2 separate regions of the Homo sapiens genome follow, and region 2 is linked to region 1. The links are contacts of gene promoters, found by promoter capture Hi-C in blood cells and fetal thymus (Javierre and others, 2016). All regions are on one chromosome and are shown on one strand. The core of a region is centred on a gene start or on the middle of the fragment in contact, and the rest is flanking DNA. Distances in the headings are between cores, read along the strand shown. Region 1 holds the start of HAL (histidine ammonia-lyase). Region 2 has its middle 37 kb from the start of TRD-GTC1-1.

Evidence for each region. Contacts are between HindIII fragments. The CHiCAGO score rates a contact against its expected background, and 5 or more counts as called.
Region 2: a contact is called between a fragment that was not itself captured here and the fragment with the promoter of HAL in region 1, in 1 of 17 cell types (M0 macrophages). The highest score is 5.7, in M0 macrophages.

The regions. Positions count from the first base shown.
Region 1 is chr12:95,995,043-96,001,794 of GRCh38, reverse strand. It overlaps HAL (histidine ammonia-lyase), which reads left to right and starts at 5,451. Exons shown (of 21, transcript NM_002108.4): 1 at 5,451-5,717; 2 at 5,804-6,131. The coding sequence starts at 5,885. It overlaps LOC102723340 (a long non-coding RNA gene), which reads right to left and starts at 5,313. Exons shown (of 4, transcript XR_945237.4): 1 at 5,165-5,313; 2 at 3,368-3,464; 3 at 1,535-1,704. It overlaps LTA4H (leukotriene A4 hydrolase), which reads left to right. Exons shown (of 19, transcript NM_000895.3): 19 at 689-1,042. The coding sequence ends at 806. RefSeq lists enhancers at 3,044-3,103, 3,550-3,844, 5,069-5,238. The HindIII fragment of the contact is 1,685 bases long and covers 5,320-6,752 here.
Region 2 is chr12:98,463,503-98,470,040 of GRCh38, reverse strand. No RefSeq gene overlaps it. Among named protein-coding and RNA genes, the nearest start is that of TRD-GTC1-1, 37 kb to the left of the region's middle. RefSeq lists an enhancer at 569-938 and a silencer at 5,939-6,312. The HindIII fragment of the contact is 1,197 bases long and covers 4,372-5,568 here.

The DNA.
Region 1 (6,752 bases), core at 4,202-6,701:
GTTTATAGTAGTTACATTAAAAATGACTAATCCTACCTTTTGTATGGTAGGTCCTTTTTATTTAGTGTATTTATTATTTATTTCGTGTATTATTTATTATGTATTTATTATTTCACTGTGGTCAGGACTTTTATTCTCAATTATTTGAAGTTTTCAGAAATTCTATATAAATTTTAGTGTTTTCATACTCTTAAAATCTTGATTAAAAAATTTTTTTTAAAAGCAGTTTTTAAAAAGAAAGGCTTTGAGGCTCACTCTCACATACAGGGCTGATATTTAGCCAGGAGATGAGAGGACTCTGTTCAAATAATAAAATCCTTCCATGCTGCTTGGTAAATAGCCACGGGTCCCAGCCACTCTAGCCCTTCCCTGTAACTTGCTGCAAAATGTCTGATCTGCCAGTATAAAGGCCAGTCTCTGGTACAGAAGGAGGTCTCTGGGACCCTGTGGCAGGACCATACCCATCTGATTGGCTGGGACTGGTGCCTTATTTGGGTGATGCTGGCTGTCACCCCTGCTGACATCCTTTAATTTAATCTTGGGTATTGACTTGTGTTCTTATTCTCTTTCTCCTTCCTTTTTCCTTTCCTCTGAACCCCTTCCCTCCTTTCTTTCTTCTCTCCCTCCCTTTCTCCTCCTCTGTCTCCTTCTCGCCTTTCTTTCTTTTCAATTTTTTCTTTTTTGGCAGGGATCTTGCTGCCTTTGACAAATCCCATGATCAAGCTGTCCGAACCTACCAAGAGCACAAAGCAAGCATGCATCCCGTGACTGCAATGCTGGTGGGGAAAGACTTAAAAGTGGATTAAAGACCTGCGTATTGATGATTTTAGAGATTTCTCTTTTTTAAATGGAATTCGTAAAGAAATATAAAACTTCAGCTCACAATTAAAACTGTCTTTTTAGTTTTGGCTTTTTATTGTTTTGTTGGTGATTTTACTGAAATAAAGTTGAGCTACTTCTTCTTATAGTGGCATATTCTTTGTAAATTTTAACAAGGTTTAATCTTTTGATTTACAAATTAAAAAATTTTGAATTAGCTTTATATTAATTTTCTCTCAGTATGATCACAAAATATGTCAAGGTAGTATTTTACCTGATATATGATTTAAATTCATTAATTTGAATCTGCTGCAGATTCAAAAATTCAACATGGTTAGGATTTTGCTTTGCTTTTTAAATAACCTTAAACATAAGTCCGGGCGCAGTGGTTCATGCCTGTAATCCCAGCACTTTGGGAGGCCAAGGCGGGTGAATCACCTGAGGTCAGGAGTTTGAGACCAGCCTGGCCAACATGGTGAAACCCCGTCTCTACTAAAAATACAAAAATTAGCTGGGCGTGGAGGCACGACTGTAATTCCAGCTACTCAGGAGGCTGAGGGAGGATAAGCACTTTAATCTGGGAGGCAGGGGTTGTAGTGAGCCGAGATGGCGCCATTGCACTCCAGCCTGGGCAATGGAGACTCTGCCTCGAAAAATAAAAAATTAAAAAAAAACCTTAAACATGAATGCTTAGTTGTATTTGCACACCACCTACCTGGTGGACAGCAGATGAACTCCTTACCAGAATGTGTCAACCCTAGCAGGAGCTCTCAACTCCCTCCTCCTGGACCCCTCCGGCTCATCCAGTGGGCTTGTCCTGGTCTCCTGTCCATCAGGGGTCAGATGGCCACCCCAAGCACCAGTCTTTCCCATCCCTCTCACAGTCTGTTCAAAGACAACAAAATAACTTGAACCAAATAAAAGACAAACATAACAAAGCACCCCTGCCAATGCAACGTAGTGCCCCAGGGCATCTCAGCACACATAGCTGTACTAGGTAGAATTATTAGTGTATTAGCTCTATTAGTTAGAATTAATTAGAACCATAGCTGTGTTAGAATTCTTTGATTGCAAGTAACAGCAATCCAAGTGACCAGAAGTCAAAAAGGGAAAAGGAAGATTATTTTAAGGATGCTAGGTATGGGGAGATTATCAGAACCTGGGACGGACAGAAGGGGTCTGATGCCCAGGACTGCAGCACCGTCAGTGCTCCTGTCCCTCACCTCTGCCTCTCTAGTCCACGTTGTACAGGCCGGCCACTCTCCAGCTTTACTGTTACAAATAGCTCTGACCACATGGGGAGGCTATCACAATTCCAAATTCCCAGAGGTGAGACTCTAACCCAGGTTGGGTCCACCTCTGGTCAAATAAATTGTGTAAGAGGAATGGTGTCTTAGAGTATAATTGTTGGCATGGGGTGGGGGTGGGGAGCGGTGTCCTGACCAAATAACCCCTCAAAGTGCTAATGCAGTGACTAAAGTTACAATAGGAGTGAACACCCAAGGTGGGACAGGTATGGAAGAGACATATTCCTGCCTATTCCCGGAATCCTGACTTTTCCCTGGCTCTCACTCTCCCTAGCAGTTTTTGTTTTGTTTTGTTTTGAGACAGGGTCTCACTCTGTCGCCCAGGCTGGAGTGCAGTGGCATGACCATAGCTCACTGCAGCATCAGCCTCTGGGTTCAAGCCATCCTCCCACCTCAGCCTCTGGAGTAGCTGAGACTACAGGCATGCACCACCATGTCTGGCTAATTTTTGTTTTGTAGAGAAAGAGTTTGGCCATGTTGCCCAGGCTGGTCTCGAACTCCTGGGCTCAAGCAATCCACCCGCCTCGTTCTGTCCTCTTGGTCACTTATCTATGCTGCAGTGTGATTCTTTCTCCAGGCTCTGCTCTCCCTTGCCTTCCTTGCCAAGAATACAGAGAAGGGAGTTCAGCTCAAATCACTGGCATAAGATCATGTTCTAAGATTAGACTTTAGCAAATCCATTTACCCAAATACTGCTCTTTAAGGCTTCTGCCCTATGAGCTTACAAGACAAGCTGTAAGTTAATGTCGTTTTTAGTTATCACTTAGTGATACTGAAAGTGAATTGTGACAAGGGATGCTTGAAGGGTGGCATGGAAGGGTGCTGTGAAGAAGGTAGAGGGCGCTAAAGACAAACTTAATCCTGCTTGCTGGTTTACCTAGGGGCCAGCTCGGTGCAGTTCACATTTCTTCAGTTCAGCTAGTAAGCATATGCTAAATGTCTTTGTGCCAGATCGGATATATACATAATTATGGATGAACACAGACAAGTAATTTCCTAGATAATACTAAAGAAGAGCTATGCTAAGGCATCCCAGAGAAGGGCCACTTAACCCAACTGAAGAATTTAGGGAATGCTTCCTGGAGAAGAAAAGGCCTAAACAGGCTTAAGGAGTAAGAAAGATCTAGACAGGCAAAGGAAGTTGGAAAGTGCGTTTCTGGAGAAAGAATAACAAGGAAGACTCTGCTCCACAATGCGTAGGGCCTGAGTTTAGAATCCTCAAACTGCTGGGGGTGACTTACATGGCTGGGAGGTGGTATCACCTGGAAGCTCCTTCCCTCACTAGTCTGATGCCTGGGCTGAAATTACTCAGAAGCTGGTCTCGGCAGTGACAGTCAACTGGAGCATGCAGTAGTTTGGGTTGTTTTGCAGCATGAAGATAGTTAGACCTCTTATTAGTCATCTTTATACAGCTTTATCCATCACCAGACAGTAAGCCTCATGAATGTAGAGCGTGTTTGTTATTTATTTCATCCCCAGCACCTCGCATAGAGCTTGTTACATAACAGGTGTTGAAAAAATATTTGTTAAATGAGTCAAGGAATGAATGGGGGGGGGTGGGGCAGAAGGTTAAGGTGGTTCACATGTGCAGTCCTCAGTTTTCTCACAGATGTAGGAAGTAAGGTCTCCTTCTGAGAATTAGAGGTGGATGTCGAGAAGGTCCTGGCAGAGGGGTCAAAGTTTTGGAAAGTCACTGTGGGCTGGATGGAATAAAAGGGCAATACCATCAAACTATGTGATCACAGGACTTTCTCTATCAGTGTCTTCTGCCTGGGTGAACAGATATGACAGTTTCTTTTAATTTTAAACAGGGTCTTGCTCTCACCCAGGCTGGAGTACAGTGGTATAATCATAACTCATTGCAGCATTGACTGCCTAGGCTTAAGCAATCCTTCCAAGAGATGGCTGTTTTTTGTGATGACTAAGGGGATGGGTGTTATTCCAAGTGTAGACATAAGTTTAGGGATGCAAAGGAATCTCAGAGTGCTTAAGAAAGAGTGGTCCAGTGAGCGACTAGGGACCAGCTTCCTAGGATAGTAAGTGAGGATGCTGGTGGGAAGTGGAGGGATGAAGAGACTGACTGGAGGTCAGGTCCAAGGCTGGCAGTGACTAGAGTAAAAGGGCAGCTGGAAGGTTGTGGTCAGAAGGTGGAATATTGGAATTTCAGATTTCTTAAGTGTGTCAAATTCAGGTCGTGACAGATTCCAGGGTGATTTCTTAAGTGTGTCAAATTCAGGTCATGACAAATTCCAGGGTGCAGTCATGGTGTGGGTATCTGAAGAGCAAGTTTCAATAAGGCTCAAGGAAGGGTAGCTATTTGTACGCTTCCTGGGAAGCTGTCAGCAGATGAGAGGGACTCTGGGTATGAGTATAGGTGTTTTTCTTGAGCAACCATGTCTCTCTTCCCAACAGAAGTCTGATTTAGTGGAAACAGACTTTTCAGGATTTTTCTAGTGCAATAATCAAATCTCTAAAAATTGGCTTACGATGAAAGTGCTGCTTAGTCAAAATAGCATCTGCATATCTTTGATGCCGTAATCATGCTATCCAGAGTTCCTTAATACCAATGGTAATAAGGCGGGTGCAGGGAGCAGTTATCTGTGGTGAAGAAGCTTAATTGGGTGAGGGATATCCATGTGCCAAGATGAAAGAGCATTTATGGAACTTTATAGCTTTATGATTCATACAGAACATTTATAAAGCATTATAGTTACATGGAGTATTGGTGTCCAGATACTAGTAATCACAGACACTTCTATAATATTTCCACTATGCCAGGTGTTGTGTTGAGGGCTTTACATATATGAACTGACTTCATCCTCCCAATAGCCCTTTGACATATATACTATCATCATTACCATTATCTTCATTTTACAGATGAGGCAACTGAGGCCCAGAGAAGTCAAATCACTTGCCCACAAGTCATACACTTAGCAAATGGCAGAGCCAGGATTTGATCACAGGTAAATCCTGCACATACTGGAAGGAGGCAGTTAGCCCCTAGGCCTTCTGATAAGGAAATACAGGGTAATACTCACCTAATCAAGGCTAATAAGTAGTAGAGCTGGACTCTCATCCACGGCTGTCTGAGCCCCTAATCTCCAAGTCAGAGTGGTTCATTTGCCCAGATGACGACCTTTAGTTGTGAAAATGATCTCTGGCCTTTGCAGTCTTCCCTGGTGGAAAGAAAGCTTCAGAAAACCTTACTGGTGACAGGAAGTAGTTGCTCAATACATGTTTGTGGAATAAACAAATGAGTGACGATTGCCACACTCCCAGTGTCACAGTTGGCCCACAGAACACGTTTTACAGTTGAGTAATCTCAGATAAAGACAGGAACATGGTGTTTATAAGCTGCCCTTAATGGCAGAGAACACAGACAGAAACGAGGGAAGAGAGAGAAATTGGGGACCCTGAAGAAAGGGGGCCAGCAGCAGGTAGGTGCCATCAGGGACAAGAACAGCACCTCCCAGGGTGGGAGACCCCAGGCCTTTCTGGCAGCAGGTCTGGATGGAAAGTGGACAGGAGGCTCACCCGTCTGCATCCCCTGCTCCTGCCCCTGCTCGGCTACAAAAACCAAAGGGACAGCAGGTACCTCAATAAATATTTGTCCAATGCATGAATGAGTAAAGGTGAAGGAGGGGGAGTGGTTTGAAAGTCTATTCTCATCCTTCCAGCTGACCACACCCCGGTAGCCACTCCTGCATAAAGCTCTCCCCTCCTGTGACCAGCTGAGGACCTCAGGCTGCAGCGGAGCCATGCCCAGATACACGGTGCACGTACGTGGGGAATGGCTGGCAGTGCCCTGCCAGGACGCGCAGCTCACTGTGGGCTGGCTGGGCCGGGAGGCCGTGAGGCGCTATATCAAGAATAAGCCCGACAATGGTGGCTTCACCTCCGTGGATGACGCGCACTTCCTTGTGCGCCGGTGCAAGGGCCTGGGCCTGCTGGACAACGAGGACCGGCTCGAGGTGGCCCTAGAGAACAACGAGTTCGTGGAAGTGGGTGAGTGGCTGCAGGAGAGGGCCGCGAACGGGTGCGGTTTGGCCTGGCTTAGTCTTTGCAGCATTGAACCCCCACCTCAGGGAAAATGATGAGCAGAGGTCAGGCTTGCCGAGGCTGGCCCTGTGCAGGCACATGCCACGCCTCTGGGGATCTTAAGTCCTCACACAACCCTGTGAGATGGGTAGGATTCTCCTCCACCTCTGATGGAGGAGAAATCAGAGAGGAGGTAACTTACCCAGACTCCAGCAGCTAGTAAGTAACAAAGACTAGACTGGTACTCAAGGCTGCAGGTCTGAATCCCTTTGCAGTGACTGAATCATTTTGAGGTTATTTTGCCTTTCGAAAGAATCCACCCCCACCCCCAGACTGGAGGCCGGCAGCATAGCATCAGTTCAGATTTTGAAGAAAATAAAGCTGGGAATGGGGATGGAAGTGGAATTCTGTCTTGAACTTTCATCTAAACCCCTGGTCTCTGCCCTGACACCTACCTTTCTGCTTTTTGCTCTCCTCCTACATAAAGATGCTAAGACCACATGAAACCATCTGAAGCAGTTTTAAAGCAGCCATTTCTATAGAATTCATGGGCCAATGATGGGCCGTTCCTTGGTTTAACAGGGGGAA
Region 2 (6,538 bases), core at 3,721-6,220, 2.5 Mb before region 1:
GGGCGCGGTGGCTCATGCCTGTAATCCCAGCACTTTGGGAGGCCGAGGTGTGTGGATCACCTGAGGTCAAGAGTTCTAGACCAGCCTGGCCAACATGGTAAAACCCTGTCTCTACTAAAAATACAAAAATTAACTGAGCATGGTGGCAGGCGCCTGTAATCCCAGCTACTCAGGGTGCTGAGGCAGGAGAATTGCTTGAACCCAGGAGGCAGAGGTTGCAGTGAGCCGAAATCATGCCATTGCACTCCAGCCTAGGGGACAAGAGCAAGACTTCGTCTCAAAAAAAAAATAAAAAAAAATAAAATATATGAGTCCATCCCTACATCAATGAAGTGTACCTAGAGAAGTAGAATAGTGTAAAACCATATGCCATACTAAAGCTGTATGATGATTTAATGACAAACCAAAATGATTGACATCAAGTACTTTAGGTTAATAGTCCTGTACTAGTTATCTGTTGCTGCATAATTAATTACCTCCAAACTTAGTGGCTTAAAACAACAATAAATATTTGTGATTTCACATAGTCTCTGTGGTTTGAAATTTAGGACTGACTTAGCTGGGTGGGTCTGTCTCAGGGTCTTTCATGAGATTGCAGTCAAGGTGTTGACTGGGTCTGCAGTCATCTGAAGGCTTGACCAGGGCTGGTGGATGCAGTTCTAAGATGGCACACAAGAGTGAGCTCACTCAGTTCCTCCCTATGTGGGTCTTTCCACAGGCAGCTTGAGTGTCCTCATGACACGGTGGCTGCCTTCTCTCAGGGTGAACAAGCCAAGAGAGTGCAAGGTGAAAGCCACAACATCTTTAATGGCCTAGCCTTAAAAATCACACTGTCTCATTTCTGCAATATTCTTTTCATTACACAGGTCAGCCCTCTTAAATGCGGGAGGGGTCACACAAGGATATGAATCCTAGGCTGTGAGAATCACTGGGGGTCATCTTGGAGGCTGGCTACCACATTCCCCAAAACTCATTCTGTAGAATTGGGATGTTAAAAGTTTTTATATGAAGAAGGGCTTTGCAGTCAGTCAGTATTAGAAAGGATACGTTAAAGCAAGTTAAATAGATTTCTTTCTCTCAGTCATTCTATACAGTTTTTAGTACTCTGACTCTCACTTTGAATCTTTCTCTCTCTTTCTCTTTCTTTTCTTTCTTTCTTTCTTTCTTTCTTTCTTTCTTTCTTTCTTTCTCTCTCTCTCTCTCTCTCTCTCTCTTTCTTTCTTTCTTTCTTTCTTTCTTTCTTTTTTTTTTTGACAGAGTCTCACTTTGTCACCCAGGCTGGAGTGCAGTGGCATGATTTCGGCTCACTGCAACCTCCTCCTCCCAGGTTCAAGGGATACTTCCTGCCTCAGCCACCCGAGTAGCTGGAATTACAGGTGTATGCCGCCACACCTGGCTAATTTTTGTATTTTTAGTAGAGATGGAATTTCATGGGGTTTCACCATGTTGGCCAGGCTGGTCTCGAACTCCTGACCTCAAGCTATCTGCCTGCCTCGGCCTCCCAAAGTGCTGGGATGACAGGTGTGAGCTACCGCACCCGGCCTCACTTTGAATTTCTGAAAGAGGGACAGAATAAATAACCGTAGCACAGCTTCCTTCTTTTTTTCTTTTTTCTTTTTTCTTTTTAGAGCTGGAGTCCAGCTGGAGTGCAGTGGCATGATCTTGGCTCACTGCAACCTCTGCCTCCCAGGTTCAAATAACTCTCATGCCTCAGCCTCCCAAGTAGCTGGGACTACAGGTGTGCACCACTACGTCTTGCTGATTTTTGTATTTTTAGTAGAGACGGGGGTTTCACCATTTTGGCCAGGTTGGTCTTAAACTCCTGGCCTTAAGCAATCCACCTGCCTCGGCCTCCCAAAGTGCTGAGATTACAGGTGTGAGCCACTGCGCCCAGCCAGCACAGCTTCTTTCTCATTCTCCAGCTTTTCCCCCAGTGGGCCTTTCTCCGCTCCACCATCTCTCTTTCCTTCCCTCTACAAGCATATCAGACTGCTGTCTGTCTCCTGTTAAAAATATAAGCTTCTGGCCAGGTGTGTTGTCTCACACCTATAATGCCAGCACTTTAGAAGGCGGAGGTGGGAGGATTACTTGAGTCCAGGAGTTTTAGACCAGCCTGGGCCACATAGTGAGACCCCTGTTTCTACAAACAAAATAAAAAAATTAGCTGGGCATGGTGGTGGATACTCGTAGTGCCAGCTTCTCAGGAGACTGAGGTGGGAGGATCACTTGTGCCTAGAAGGTTGAAGCTGCAGTGAGTCATGATCATGCCGCCTCTCTCCAGCCTGAGTGACAGAATGAGACCCTGTTTAAAAAAAAAAAACAAAACAATGCCAGGCGCGGTGGCTCACGCCTGTAATCCCAGCACTTTGGGAGGCCAAGGTGGATGGATCACCTAAGGTCAGGAGTTCGAGACCACCCTGACCAACATGGAGAAACCCCGTCTCTACTAAAAATACAAAATTAGCTGGGTGTGGTGGCACATGCCTGTAATCCCAGCTACTCGGGAGGCTGAGTCAGGAGAATCACTTGAACCCGGGAAGCGGAGGTTGCAGTGAGCTGAGATTGCACCATTGCAGTCCAGCCTGGGCAACAAGAATGAAACTCCATCTCCAAAAAACAAAACAAAACAAAGAAAAAGAAAAATAAGCTTCTGATAAAGCAATACAGTTTCATCTGGAGTTGGTCATTCTTGACCCTCCAAAGCCTTCTTGTCCATTTGGTCAGTGCACATCATGAAAACCTAGGAGTGATTAAAAAGGAAAGGAACACATTGTCACATGAAGGTGGGTAGTCAGTCTGAGGAAGTTCTGCAAGAGAAATTTTACAAAGCTCTCTATATTGGCCATGGTGTTGGGTGATATTGAGTCATAAAGTAACGAATACTATTTGAAGGCCAATAATCATTCACACATGAAAGTTTGGGCTGCCTCTTTAAGATATGTTTGTGTGGGGGAAACAAGGTACAGGTTAGTAACATCTTGTACTTTGGTTTTTGCCAACAAATACGAGACCTTCCAGTTTTAGGACTTACCCCGTCTCCTCTCATCAGTGTGACTGTTGTTATTTCTTTTGTGTAGGCTATTTGTCATGACAACAACTCAGTTTATTTAAAGTGTTTTATCATATTTCTGTGAGCTGGTTATACCATCTTGAATTATTTAATTCAGAGTAAACACTGAGGTGGTGTGTATGTGAAAGAGTCTACACCATATGTGTTTATGGAAATGTGCTTATTGAGATGTCGTTTCCAAGCACGGCATCTGCTCTTGTGCATCTTTTATATTATTTTGCATGGAGCCTATACAATGATTGATCTCCACCATCTGATAGTTTTCCTTTTAAGACAGTTTCCCTTCTTATGTTCTTGATAAATGATAATGTTTAATATTTGGGAAGAAAAAAAGCATCTAAATTAAAAATAAGAATGATCAATAAAAATGTCTTCTGAGTTCTTTAATTTCCATTATGCAGTGCATGATTTTTAGAAAGAGCTGAAATCTGTGCATTTAGAAGAGTAAGGTTTTCTGAATATTATCTCAAATGGAAAAGCCCAAGTTTACTCAACCTGTGATTCACACAGAGGTCTAGGTCTCATAAAGACTGCTGAAAATCAAATCCTCCTCTTCACCCTTTTTCCATGGACTGAACATTTGGGCTTTGGGTTCCTATAAATATACTCTGAGTTCCTGTTTACAGTGTTCCTAGGCATCCTGCCTTGCTGCACAAGATGGAGTTTTACAATGTCCAGTGTTACCTAATGGCTTCTTTAAATTGCAAATTCACCTTACCATCCTTGGTTGTCTCTATGGAGAGAAAACTTAATAAATCCCCAAATACAACCCCACAGAGACCTGTACATGCACATGTACTGAACTCAGAAAACAATGAGTCATGCAATCAACTAGTGTTCATCTATCTTCTTAAAATAGCACTTGAAGTAATTTATTATTAATAACATTTTCTGCTGGGCACAATGGCTCACACCTGTAATCCCAACACTTTGGGAGGCTGAGGCAGGAGAATTGCTTGAACCTGGGAGGTAGTGGTTGCAGTGAGCCAAGACTGCGCCACTGCACTCCAGCCTGCGTGACAGAGTGAAACTCTCAAAAAACAAAACAAAACAACATTTCCTGAGTTTTCAAAATCAGAGAATTGAGCCTATCTAGGGGATCAACTTCTTGATTTACCAAAAATATATTGGTTCAAATGCAGTAAAGAAACTGCAACCATCTTAACTGTAAAATCTGCTGCTTTTAAAACTGGAGAGGGACTCAAGCACCTTGAAATGTCATGTTCACTAACATCTCTCTAGTGTGGTTTGCAAACCACTGGCAAGATGCAAGATGATTTTAGGTGGTACATGGATAAGCTTTCAAATGATTTAATCATCATTTACTTATACTGGGTTGAATAATCTCCCTCTCAAAATTTATGTCTAACCCGAACCTCAGAATGTGACCTTATTTGGAAATAGGGCCTTTGCAGATGTAATTAAATAAGGATCTTGATCTCTGGTATCTTTATAAAAGAAATAAGAGGGATATTTGGACACAAAGACACACAGGGAGAAAAAGGTCATGTGACTATGGAGATAGAGATTGGAATGATGCCTATAAGCCGAGAACACCAAGAAGCCAGGAAAAAGGCATCAGACAATTTTTCCCTGAGAACCTCCAGAAAATCAACACCTTGATTTTGGACTTCTGGCCCCCTGAACTGTAAGAGAATACATTTCTGTTGTTTTAAGCCACTTGGTTTGTAATGATTTGTTATGGTAGCCCTAGGAATCTAATGCATTTATTTATTTATTTTTGAGACATGGTCTCACTCTGTCTCCCAGGCTGGAGTGCAATGGCAAGATCACGGCTCACTGTAGTTTCAACCTCCCAGGCTCAAGAAATCCTCCCACCTCAGTCTCTTAAGTAGCTGGGACTACAGGCATGAACCACCATGCCCAGCTAATTAAAACAATTTTTTTTTTTTTTTTTTTTGTAGAGACGGGGTCTCTCTATGTTGCCCAGACTGGTCTCAAACTGTTGGGCTCAAGCAATCCTCCTGCCTTAAGCGATCCTCCTGCCTTGGTATCCCAAATTGCTGGGATTACAGGCGTGAGCTATTGTGCCTGGCCATTTAAAAATATATTACACAAAATAAACATGATGGTGTTATAAAACCTGTGATTTCTGAGTTGCTAGTGTTTAGACTAATAGTCCCTAAATTTATTTAGGCAGCAAAAAGTGCATTGATTAAAAAAATTAAGTAAGTAATTTCATAGGAGGTAGGGAGATATTGCAAAAATGCTGTGGGTGGTTCATGGCTGGATAAGCAGTTTGGGAAAACATTGCTGTTTGCAGCCTGTGGCTCCTTCAACCTGTAGTGGCATGGTGGGAGATCTAGGTCAACAGCGATCTGCATTCCTAATAACTCTGTGACTTTGGATAAAATATGAATAATAGCCTTGAGAAGCCCCATCTTCCTCAGCAGTAAAATGGGAACAGTAATAAATATCTCACAGGACTTATGTGGGGATTGAGTTCCTTTTCCTTCAGCCTTGAAATATCAAAAGCTTAGTTATCTGAACCAGCTCTGCTGAGTGTGGGGGTGGGGGTGGGCTCCTGGCAGCTGGGTTGATGTACAAAAGAACATTTTGTAATCATTGGCCTCAAATGTGGGTTGCCAGTGATAAATATATAGGGCTGAGCAATATGGGAAGTGAATTGCGATAAAGTGGTAGGAACTGATGCAAAGAACCTCTGATGAATCACAGCTGAAGTCAACTTTCTATTATTTCTGGGTCTTATGCATTTAATGAGTTACAATGTCCTTCATTTCTCCCTCTTCAATATGATCATGTCACAGTTCATAAAAGTGAGGGAAAGAACTCTAGATACAATCTGACTTCTATCTTAGATGTAGGAAAAACCTTTGTAAATTCAATGTTAATTTCTAGAAACACTCTAGGATGGTTTACTAAGCAGATGATATGTGAGCACTTAAAAGAGAATATTTTTTGATCATCAGGAGTTGCATGGATTTTCTGGGATTCAGAATTACTTTGACCAGTCTAAGCACTTGGCTGAAACCAGCAAGGTGAAATGGAGAGGGAATAATAGAGCTAAAATCTACTGTTTCCTAGCAAATGGTTAGGCACTGTGTTAGATGTTATCTCATTTAATCAGCGCTGAAACTCCTGAGTGTAGATATTGCTATTAAAATGCCTTTTTTTTTTTTTTTTGAGGTGGACTCTGGCTCTGTCACCCCGGCTGGAGGGCAGTGGCAGAATCTTGGCTCACTGCAACCTCCGCCTCCTGGGTTCAAGCAATTCTCCTGTCTCAGCCTCCTGAGTAGCTGGGATTACAGGCACCTGCCACCATGCCTGGCTAATTTTTGAATTTTTAGTAGAGATGGGGTTTCACCATGTTGGCCAGGCTGGTCTTGAACTCCTGACCTCAGGCCACCCACCTCAGCCTCCCAAAGTGCTGGAATTACAGGCATGAACCACTGCACCCGGCCGATATTACTATTAAAATTCTTATTT